3 separate regions of the Homo sapiens genome follow, and all the other regions are linked to region 2. Evidence: promoter capture Hi-C in 16 types of primary human blood cells and fetal thymus (Javierre and others, 2016). All regions are on one chromosome and are shown on one strand. The core of a region is centred on a gene start or on the middle of the fragment in contact, and the rest is flanking DNA. Distances in the headings are between cores, read along the strand shown.

Region 1 (3,250 bases), core at 201-2,700, 150 kb before region 2:
GTACCACTGCACTCCAGGCTGAATGACAGAGCAAGACCCTGTCTCAAAAAAAAGAAAAAAAAAAGAAAATGAGCAAACCTAGTCATTTTGAAGGCCAATGTTTGACATGTATTTTAGAGAGAAAACAAAATTGGTCCCTTGCCTAATATATGGTGGTGTTTTGCTATATAATTTATGGTCTACATGTAACAAAACAAAAGAAAGCAATATTTAAAAACTGCCAGGAGGCAAAAATTAGCCTTACCACACACCAATCCTGCCTGGGTTCCCTCCAGGGCTGGAAAAACCATTTAGAAGCAATTGCTGAAATTTTGTTTGTAGCCTAATTAAATAACCAGCTCTCACCAGGAGTTTTAATGGCCAGCCTAAGAGGTCCAGAAAGTTTTTAAGGCTTAATGACCTGCATACACTCTCAGCCCTACAGGATTCTTTAATATCTGCATAATTTTCTCTGTGGGAATGCTTTATCTGAATAGACTGTTTTGCTTTAGAAAATATTTTTGCAAACTCTAAGAAAATATTCCAGACAAGCCATAATCCCAATGATAACAGAGCTTCCTACTGCAATACATGAGTTAATGAACACAAAGAGGTTTGTGGAATGCCTGACCTATAGCAGGTGCTTAATAAATGGTAGTTGCGGGGGCGCAGTGCCTCAGGCCTGTAATCCCAGCACTTTGGGAGGCCAAGGCGGGACCTTGGGATCACCCAAGGTCAGGAGCTCAAGACCAGTCTGGACAACGTGGTGAAACCCGGTCTCTACTAAAAATACAAAAATTAGCTGGGCATGGTGGCGCACGCTTGTAATCCCAGCTACTCAGGAGGCTGAGGCAGGAGAATCGCTTGAACCTGGGAGGTGGAGGTTGCAGTGAGCCGATATCACGCCACTGCACTGCAGCCTGGGCGACAGAGTGAAAACTGTGTCTCTAAATAAATAAATAAATAAATGGTAGTTGCCTTCCCACATCTCAAGGGCTATTTAAAAATCCTACCTATTAGCCGGGCAGGGTGGCATTTACCTGTAGTCCCAGCTACTTGGGAGACTAAGGTGGTAGGATCGCCTGAGCCCAGGAGTTCGAGGCTGCAGTGAGCTATGATTGTGCCACTGCACTCAGGCTGGGTGACAGAGCAAGACTCTGTCTCTTAAAAATATATATATATATATATTCTTATGGGAGCCAGATGGGAGAATGTTCAATGTCAGGAATGTCCCTAAAGAGACCAAGCTTGTTGCTCCAAAAAGTTATTTCTGAATCAGCGTAATGTTTTCTCCAGTTTTTACTTCACATTTTGCATTTAGAAAGGGAGAAAAGATGGCCAGGCACAGTGGCTCATGCCTGTGATCCAGCACTTTGGGAGGCCGAGGCAGGTGGATCACCTGAGGTCAGGAGTTCGAGACCAGCCTGGCCAAAATGGAGAAAACCCCATCTCTACTGAAAATATAAAAATTAGCTGGGCGTGGTGGTGGGTGCCTGTAATCGCAGCTACTCGGGAGGCTGAGGCGGGAGAATCACTTAAAACTCAGGAGGTGGAGATTGCAGTCAGCCAAGATTGCACCATTGCACTCCAGCCTGGGAGACAAGAGCAAAACTCTGTTTCAAAACAATTAATTAATTAATTAGTTAATTTAAAAGGAGAAAAGAAAAAAGCATGCTGATTTACAAATAAGCTTCAAGATGAAGCAGAGGTAAGGCCCAGAAGCTGTTTTTAAATATTTATTTTCTAGCCTGGCCAACATGGTAAAAGCCCAGCTCTACTAAAAATACAAAAATTAACCAGGCATGGTGGTGCACGCCTGTCATCCCAGCTATTCAGGAGGCTGAGGCAGGAGAATCGCTTGAACCTGGGAGGCAGAGGTTGCAATGAGCTGAGATTGTGCCACTGCACTCCAGCCTGGGTGACAGAGAAAGAACCTGTCTCTAAATAAATAAATAAATATCTTCCCCCAGGAAATTTCCTTTACTTACCTATTTAATTTCTTTCAGGGGCATTTTCATAACCAGTAGCCTGAGTTAAGTGGCACTTAAAAAAAAACAAAACAAAACAAGGTCTCAGTCTGTTGTAGAGACTGGAGTACAGTGGCCCAATCATAGCTCATTGCAGCCTTGAACTCTTGGGCTCAAGCAATCCTCCTGCCTCAGCCTCCTGAGTAGCTGGGACTGCAGGTGCATACCACCATGCCCGTCTAATTTTTAAAATTTTTTTTTGTAGAGATGAGGTCTTGCTATGTTGCCCAGGTTGGTCTCAAAATCCTAGGCTCAAACCATCCTCCCTCCTTGGCCTACCAAAATGCTAGGTTTTTTTTTTTGTTGTTTGTTTGCTTTGAGACGGAGTCTCGCTCTGTCACCCAGGCTGGAGTGCAGTGGTGAAATCTCGGCTCACTGCAAGCTCCACCTCCCGGGTTCACACCATTCTCCTGCCTCAGCCTCCCAAGTAGCTGGGAATACTGGCACCCGCCACCAAGCCCGGCTAATTTTTTGTATTTTTTTAGTAGAGATGGGGTTTCACCGTGTTAGCCAGGATGGTCTCGATCTTCTGACCTCGTGATCCACCCGCCTCGGCCTCCCAAAGTGCTGGGATTACAGGCATGAGCCACCGTGCCCGGCCGCAAAATGCTAGGATTATAGGTGTGAGCCACCATGCCCTCATAAGAAAATTCTTACTCCTTGGACCATATCTTGGTGTCTCTATAGCTATAGCTCAGTTCTTCTACCCTTGGGATAAAAACTAAGGTGGTTAAGCCATGATACTGTAAAGGAGTCATGGGATTTTACTGACATAAAGGTGATGTTCTACCACTGTTCTAACTTAGGAAATCTGCAGCATGCCCAGGCACAGGAGTTTACCCTCCCATCAGCACCACCCTCTGAGGACAAGCCCCATCACCCTCTGCTCTAGAGAGGTGGCAGTTGTCCTGAACTATGGCGGAGGCAGTTGTCCACGTGGAGTGGATAGATTGGAGAGCTGGCAAGTCCTGTGGCATAAATAGAGGACCACAGGCTGGCTACAGTTGGTAGACACTTCTCCCCAGGTGGCAAGAGAAGGATGGCCAATGCAGCGTCTGGACACTGACAATTTATACTTTCTTAAGTGAAGATCAGTGGCCTCCCCTTGGTCTTCCCTTTGGTAACACAGCTGCTGTCTATGAGGTCCCTCACCTCTTCATCAGCCCACAGGAAGTGGTTCTTTTTTTTCATCTATATAATTGTGTTTCTTTTTTAAGTTTTTCTTTTTCTTTCTCTTTTTCTTT
Region 2 (3,706 bases), core at 360-2,859:
TCGGCCGGGCGCGGTGGCTACTGCACTACAGCCTGGGCAACAGAGCCAGGCTGTGTCTCAAGAAAAAAAGAAAAAAAAAAAAAAAAAAAAAAAAAAAAGATCAAAGCACTTGTTACTGCATTTGAAATCCTGGATAGAAAAGATGTACAAGTGCCTCAACACAGTTCCTAAACTGCCTAGGAATTCTACTGCTTGTGAGAGGGTTTACATATTTTCTTAGCTTGACCTCTAATGGAAGAAAGGTCGTGTCAAGAACTATCCTTTTGGCCGGGCGCGGTAGCTCACGCCTGTAATCCCAGCACTTTGGCAGGCTAAGGCGGGCGGATATCTTGAGGTCAGGAGGTCCAGACCACCCTGGCCAAAATAGCGAAACCCCGTCTCTATTAAAATACAAAAATTAGCCGGGCGTAGTGACGGGCGTCTGTAATTCCAGCTACTCGGGAGGCTGACGCGCCAGGATCACTTGAACCCGGGAGATGGAGGTTACAGTGAGCAGAGATCGCGCCACTGCACTTCAGCCGGGGCCACGGAGCGCGAGACTCCTTCGTCTCAAACAAACAAACAAACAATTCTGGCCGGGCGCGGTGGCTCACGCCTGTAATCCTAGCACTTTGGGAGGCCGAGGCGGGCGGATCACGAGGTCAGGAGATCGAGACCATCCTAACACGGTGAAACTACGTCTCTACTAAAAATACAAAAAATTAGCCAGGCGTGTTGGCGGACGCCTGTAGTCCCAGCTACTTGGAAGGCTGAGGCAGGACAATGGCGTGAACCCGGGAGGCAGAGCTTGCAGTGAGCAAGATCGCGCCACTGCACTCCAGGCTGGGCAACATAGCGAGACTCCGTCTCAAAAAAAAAGAAAAAAAAAAAAAGAATCCTTTTGGAGAGGGAGCTTGTAGTTTAAGTAACTTAAACATCCACGTATAATAAAGCCACTTAGAAGGCGGTGCATTTTCACACGTTCTCAAACCAGGCCTGGGTTTTTCCGCGCAAGCTAAGGCCTCATTCCTACTGGGTAGGAGAGAAACATTGCAGCAAAATCCACACAAAGAGCTCTTTTCACTTGTCCTCAAAACCTCACGGGTCGCAAATCCGGGCTAAACGGCTCAGGGGCCTGGCTGGGGAACTGGGCCGAAGGTGGAACGGATCCCAGCCACCTCGGGGCCAGGAAAAGATGAAGTGTCGCAGGCCCGGCGTCCCCGCCCTCCGCCTGAGGCAACGGAGCATCTCTCTTCGAGTAGCCCATTTTCCAGAGAGTCTCCTCGGCTGCGAAAGCCAGACGAAGAGGGACCCAAAGCCACCGCAGCGGCAAGAGCCGGAGAACCACTGAGGGACAGCGCCCCCTGCAGAGGCGGTTGAACCGCTTCCCACAGCGCTGGGCGGGGCGTCGCGCAGTCCCTGGGCGCTGATTGGGCACTCCGTGTCCCCTCCCCCTCGGCCCGGCGCTGCCTCTGTCTCCTTTGACCTCGATTTCAAGCCATGCGCTGAGCTTCGGTTGGCCCGGCTTCCTTGAGGCGTAAGCTCGGTCTGTCCAATGAGGAGCGAGCGTCGCGGGGGCCGTCGGGAAGGGCGGCCGACCCATATAAGCAGCCTGCGGGGCGTTCCCTCGGGTTGTGGTTGGTGTGCGGGTTTCGGTTGGAGGACTCGTTGGGGAGGTGGCCTGCGCTTGTAGAGACTGCATCCCCGAGACGATGGCGGAGGGAGATAATCGCAGCACCAACCTGCTGGTGAGTCCTGGCTGCCTGTCCCCCGGGAGCCGAGCGAGGCCTCCAGACGTCCGTGGGCTCAAACACCGCGGCCTCGTCCCTGTCACCCGCCGCGGGCCCGGCCCTTCTCTCCCTGGGCAGGCGACGATGCCTGGCCCTCGGGCTTCTTGGGTGACTCCTGGGTGTCGAACCCTTACCTTTCCTGGGGACGGTGCGCGACGGGGCGAGGAGGGCGCGTGATTCATCACCGCGAGTAGGAGTCGAGGAGGAAGTGGGAGGCAGAGGGGCTGCGACACTAGCCTGGGGTGCGGGTGGGGGCAGAAGGCCTCCTGGGGCCTGTCCAGCGCTTTCGCGGCTCAGGCCCCAGCCGTATTCGGCTTTCCCCGTCTTTGATCTTAACCTGGATGTGCCTGCCTTCTTTTCCCCCTAAAACTTGGACAAGGGTGGAGGGTCAAAGGGCTACTGCCCAGAATTTATCTTAGAGCTGGTACAACTTAAAACGACAGGGAGGCTGCGAGCTCACCGTGGGGAACCGGGAGCGGGGTCCAGCTGAACAGACAATGGGATGTCTTGGCGTTTGTCTGGAATTTGGAAGTCTGGCGGGGGTGGGGTCACAGGACTACTGGAAACAGCTTTAGAGTAATAAGCAGGGATCCGAAGGAACTGCAGTGAGATGGTATCATAGGCGGACACATTTTTATTTGTTATGAATTTAAGCGCACCTTGTGGGCAAAAAACAAGAGAAATATCCTTGCATATTCTCAGTTGCCCTTCCCTGGTGACTGTAGGTCACATACCAGCAATGAAAAACGGAACCAAAGAATTTACTTAGGGGCTTTTGAACTTCCAAGACCCCAGACGCTGGCCAATGACGTGACTTCAGGGCAGTTTTGATTGTGCGTGATTTTATATTTGCTTTTAGAAATGCATGGTTTGTTCCTTTAAACACACGCTCCTTCTAGCATAGTTAGTTCTCAGCGTGGATCTTTTTAAGAGGATTAATTGAAGCACAGAGAAGTAGCTCAAGCCCTGTTGAAATGACAAATCCTGGGCTAGAGCTCCTGCTTCCCAACTCTCCTTCCAGCAGAGCAATATAACTCTAAGGAAAGCAACGCCTTTGGTCGTGGATTTCTTGGATGCAGATCAGTTAACCTCTGTATCTGTTTCCTCCTTGGTAAAATGGGGACAGTAATAACACCTTTTTTTAAGGGTTGTTAGGAAGATTAATTGAAGTATAAATATGAATGCTCAGCAGAGTGCCCACACATAGTAGTCTCTTTCACTAGTATTAAGCATGGAATATAAAGTCAGAAATATTGAGATCACACTAGTGCTCAGCGTGGCACAGATAGCGAGCGTCTTTGTTAAGATTAAGTGCCTTGTTCTGTCATTTGCATGATTTCCAGTGAATGACTTTTACAAAGAGACAAGGTCTCAGCCCAGGCTGGTCCCGATCTCCTGGGCTCAAGCAATCCCCCCCGACCCGCCAAGTGCTGGGTTTACAGGCGTGATCCACTGCATCCAGCCTGATAACATAGAGACACTTGAGTTTCTTATTCTAAATTTTTCTTCCTTTACCAAAACCAGCTTTAAGGGCTTTTGCCACATTAGCTCATCCTAGAGGCCCACTTTCGGCTGTTCAGAGTCAGAGAAATTTGAAGTATAATCAAAATGACATCCTGAGTGGTAAGAAACACTGTATTGAGGAGGTATATTGACCGTAAAATGCCACCTTAATTTGGTGAAAGTAGTTTTCCTTAATTGTCCAATGAATGTCAACATCTGAGTGATTCCATTACACAAAGAGCTATTTTAGAAATTGAATGCTATTCAGGGAAAGTCTTTCCTAATGGATTTAGAAGGGTTTAAATCAATAAGATGACAAAAACAACGGATCAATTCTAACCATCTGAAATAAACAAACTTAAAAAAAGTTATTTCATTTTATTAATACTCTGGGCACTGCCACGATTCCCCGCATGACTTTGAGAAAGTAAACC
Region 3 (3,470 bases), core at 870-3,369, 170 kb before region 2:
CCAGTCTGATTTGCTTAAGAGATAGTGGGCATTCACTGGAAAGACACTGGGTGAGATGCAGCTGAGTTTAGAAGGAGATGGGAGCTGAGGACCAGAGGGAACCGAGGACGGTGGCTCTCTCCTTTTATCTCTTTTCAGCCTCTCTCTGAGGCTTCTTATTCCTTCTCTGTGTCCTGGCTTTCTACTTTCCAGTACAGGCAGCAGAAAATGACTGGCAACAGCAGTAGGCGACAAAGCTAACAGATTTCATTGTTGTTCAGTCTCTTTCTCTGTCTTCCTGTGCTTTTTGGAGCAATTCCTAAATTAGTTATGAACTGTAGCACCATCCACATTTTTGCAAAATTGTTTTTTTCAGACAAGGTCTCACTCTGTCACCCAGGCTGGAGTACAGTGCTGATCATAGCTCACTGCAGCCTCAACCTTCTGGATTCCAGTGATCCTCCCACCTCAGCCTCTTGAGTAGCTGGGACTACAGGTACATACCACAACACTTGGCTAATAAAAAAATAAAAAATAAAAAACTCTATATACACAGGGTCTTAATTTGTTGCCCAGGCTGGTCTCAAGCTTCTGGGTTCAATCAATCCTTCTGCCTCCACCTCCCAAAATGCTTGTATTACAAGCATGAGCCACCACAACCATCCAGTGTTCATATTTTTAATCATGTTTGGGAGACATTTTCGTGGAGGATTCTAGAATTTTCCCATATATGTTACCGCATGAGTAGAAGACATCTGTGTGGGTGCTAGTACGTCTATAAGAATAAAGTGGCTGGGCGTGGTGGCTCACGCTTGTAATCCCAGCACTTTGGGAGGCCATGGAGGACAGATCACCAACTCAGGAGATCGAGACCATCCTGGCTAACACAGTGAAACCCTGTCTCTAATAAAAATACAAAAAAATTAGCTGGGCATGATGGTGGGTGCCTGTAGTCCCAGCTTACTCGGGAGGCTGAGGCAGGAGAATGGTGTGAACCTGGGAGGCAGAGCTTGCAGTAAGCCAAGATCGCACCACTGCACTCCAGCCTGGGCAACAGAGCAAGACTCCGTCTCAAAGGAAAAATAAATAAATAAATAAATAAATAAATAAATAAATAAATAAATAAAAGAATAAAATAAAGCATTCAGACCGGGTGCGGTGGCTCACACCTGTAAATTCCAGCACTTTGGGAGGCCAAGGCAGGCAGATCACTTGAGGTCAGGAGTTCCAGACCAGCCTTGCCAACATAGAGAAACCCCGTCTCTACTAAACATACGAAAATTAGCTGGGCATGGTGGTGTGTGCCTGTAGTTCCAGCTACTCCAGAGGCTGAGGCAGGAGAATCGCTTGCACCCGGGAGGTGAAGGCTACAGTGAGCTGAGATCATGTCACTGCACTCCAGCCTGGGTGACAGAATGAGACCCTGTCTCCATAAATAAATAAATAAATAAATAAATAAATAAGCAGTTGCTGTAGAGTGCTAAGCCTTGCTCCTACCGGGATATCTTCTCCCAAGAGAATCCCTAACTAACAAAGTACTAAGTTCTGTGGCATAGATTCTGAGTAAAGGTTTCTTTCTTCTTCCTCATTAGGAAAAAGTGTTCAGTGATTGCAAAAAAAAAAAAAAAAGTAATTATAATAATGTGTATAAATTCTTCTAAGAGGGCTGGGTGTGATGGCTCACACCTGTAATCCTGGCACTTTGGGAGGCCGGAGGGGATCACAAAGTCAGAAGTTCAAGACTTGCCTGGCCAGTATGGTGAAACCCTGTCTCTACTAAAAATACAAAAATTAGCCGGGTGTGGTGGCGCCTGCCTGTAGTCCCAGCTACTCAGGAGGCTGAGGCAGGAGAATTGCTTGAACCTGCAAGGCAGAGGTTGCAGTAAGCTAAGATCATGCCACTGCACTCCAGCCTGGGCAACAAGAGCAAGACTTCATCTCAAAAAAATAAAATAAATAAATTCTTATAAGAAGCTTGTATTAGGAATGTTTTCGTTTGCAATTAAGAGAATATCCAGGCCAGGCACGGTGGCTCACGTCTGTAATCCCAGCACTTTGGGAGGCAGAGGTGGGCGGAACATGAGGTCAGGAGATCGAGACCATCCTAGCTAACACGATGAAACCCCATCTCTACTAAAAATACAAAAATTAGCCGGGCGTGGTGGCAGGCACCTGTAATCCCAGCTGCTCAGGAGGCTGAGGCAGGAGAATCGCTGGAACCCGGGAGGCAGAGGTTGCAGTGAGCCGAGATCTCACCACTGTACTCCAGTCTGGGTGACAGAGTCAGACTCCATCTCAAAAGCTTTGACCTCTGATAACATCCAGAAAAAAACATTCTTCCCCTCAGATCCAAGAAGATGAAGACATGATCAAAACCTGAATGCTGGACTATTTCAGAAGTGAGGGGTCCCTTGGCCTGAAAGATCCAGGGCTAGGATCTGCCTCAACATACCTTATTGTAAATGGTCAAATTTTTTTTTTTTGGAAACGGGGTCTTGCTCTGTCGCCCAGGCTGGAGTGCAGAGGCGCAATCTCGGCTCACTGAAAGCTCCGCCTCCCGGGTTCATGCCATTCTCCTGCCTCAGCCTCCCGAGTAGCTGGGACTACAGGTGCCCGCCACCACGCCTGGCTAATTTTTTGTATTTTTAGTAGAGACAGGGCTTCACCACGTTAGCCAGGATGGTCTCGATCTCCTGACCTCGTGATCCACCCGTCTCGGCCTCCCAAAGTGCTGGGATTACAGGCGTGAGCCACCGCGCCCGGCCTCGTAAATGGTCAAATTTGAAGTCCTCCAATCAGACTCTGCCAAGCCGACATTTTCAAATCCTTTCCTTTGCCCTCTGGTCCATTAAAACTTGCCCCAGGCCCCAAATAGAGGAGACAGATTTGAGCCTGACTCCTGTCTCCTTGCTGGCTGATTTTGCAATAAAACCTTTTTCATTTTTTCAAAAGCCAGTGCTGTAGTTATTGGCTTCTGTGCACATCAGGAAGCGAGCCCATTTGCTCCATAATAAATTGACAAAAGCAGATCAATGAAGAAAAAAGGATCCACAATTTATTCATGTGCCTATGAACACATGAGCCATACACAAAGCATGAGACTCGAAGAGAGACCAGGTGGTTGAAAATTAAATATTCTCTTCATGGCCGGGCACGGTGGCTCATGCCCGCAATCCCAGCACTTTGGGAGGCTGAGGCGGGCAGATCAGGAGTTCAAGATCAGCCTGGCCAACATGGCAAAACCCCGTCTTTACTAAAAATACAAAAATTAGCCAGTCATGGTGGCGCATGCCTGTAATCTCAGCTACTCGGGAGGCGGAGGCAGGAGATTCACTTGAACCCAGGAGGCAGAGGTTGCAGTGAGCCGAGTTTGTGCCACTGCACTCCAGCCTGGATGACAAAGCAAGACTCTGTCTCAAAAAAAAAAAAAAAAAAAACTCTCTTCATAGGAGAGATGTATGGACCTGGAGACAGATATTATTTTGAAAGTG

The links. The method cuts DNA at HindIII sites, captures the fragments that hold promoters and counts their contacts. A CHiCAGO score of 5 or more calls a contact.
Region 1: a contact is called between a fragment that was not itself captured here and the fragment with the promoter of ARL6IP1 in region 2, in 8 of 17 cell types (fetal thymus, activated CD4 T cells, erythroblasts and 5 more). The highest score is 9.1, in fetal thymus.
Region 3: a fragment that was not itself captured here is called in contact with the fragment with the promoter of ARL6IP1 in region 2 in 1 of 17 cell types (naive CD4 T cells); the score reaches 5.7 in naive CD4 T cells.

Annotation. Positions count from the first base shown.
Region 1 is chr16:18,950,843-18,954,092 of GRCh38, reverse strand. No RefSeq gene overlaps it. Among named protein-coding and RNA genes, the nearest start is that of SMG1, 26 kb to the right of the region's middle. The HindIII fragment of the contact is 443 bases long and covers 1,229-1,671 here.
Region 2 is chr16:18,799,452-18,803,157 of GRCh38, reverse strand. It overlaps ARL6IP1 (ARL6 interacting reticulophagy regulator 1), which reads left to right and starts at 1,609. Exons shown (of 6, transcript NM_015161.3): 1 at 1,609-1,727. The coding sequence starts at 1,692. RefSeq lists enhancers at 1,066-1,305, 1,686-1,765, 1,986-2,105. The HindIII fragment of the contact is 8,806 bases long and covers 1-3,706 here.
Region 3 is chr16:18,972,046-18,975,515 of GRCh38, reverse strand. No RefSeq gene overlaps it. Among named protein-coding and RNA genes, the nearest start is that of TMC7, 10 kb to the left of the region's middle. RefSeq lists an enhancer at 2,727-3,227. The HindIII fragment of the contact is 328 bases long and covers 1,956-2,283 here.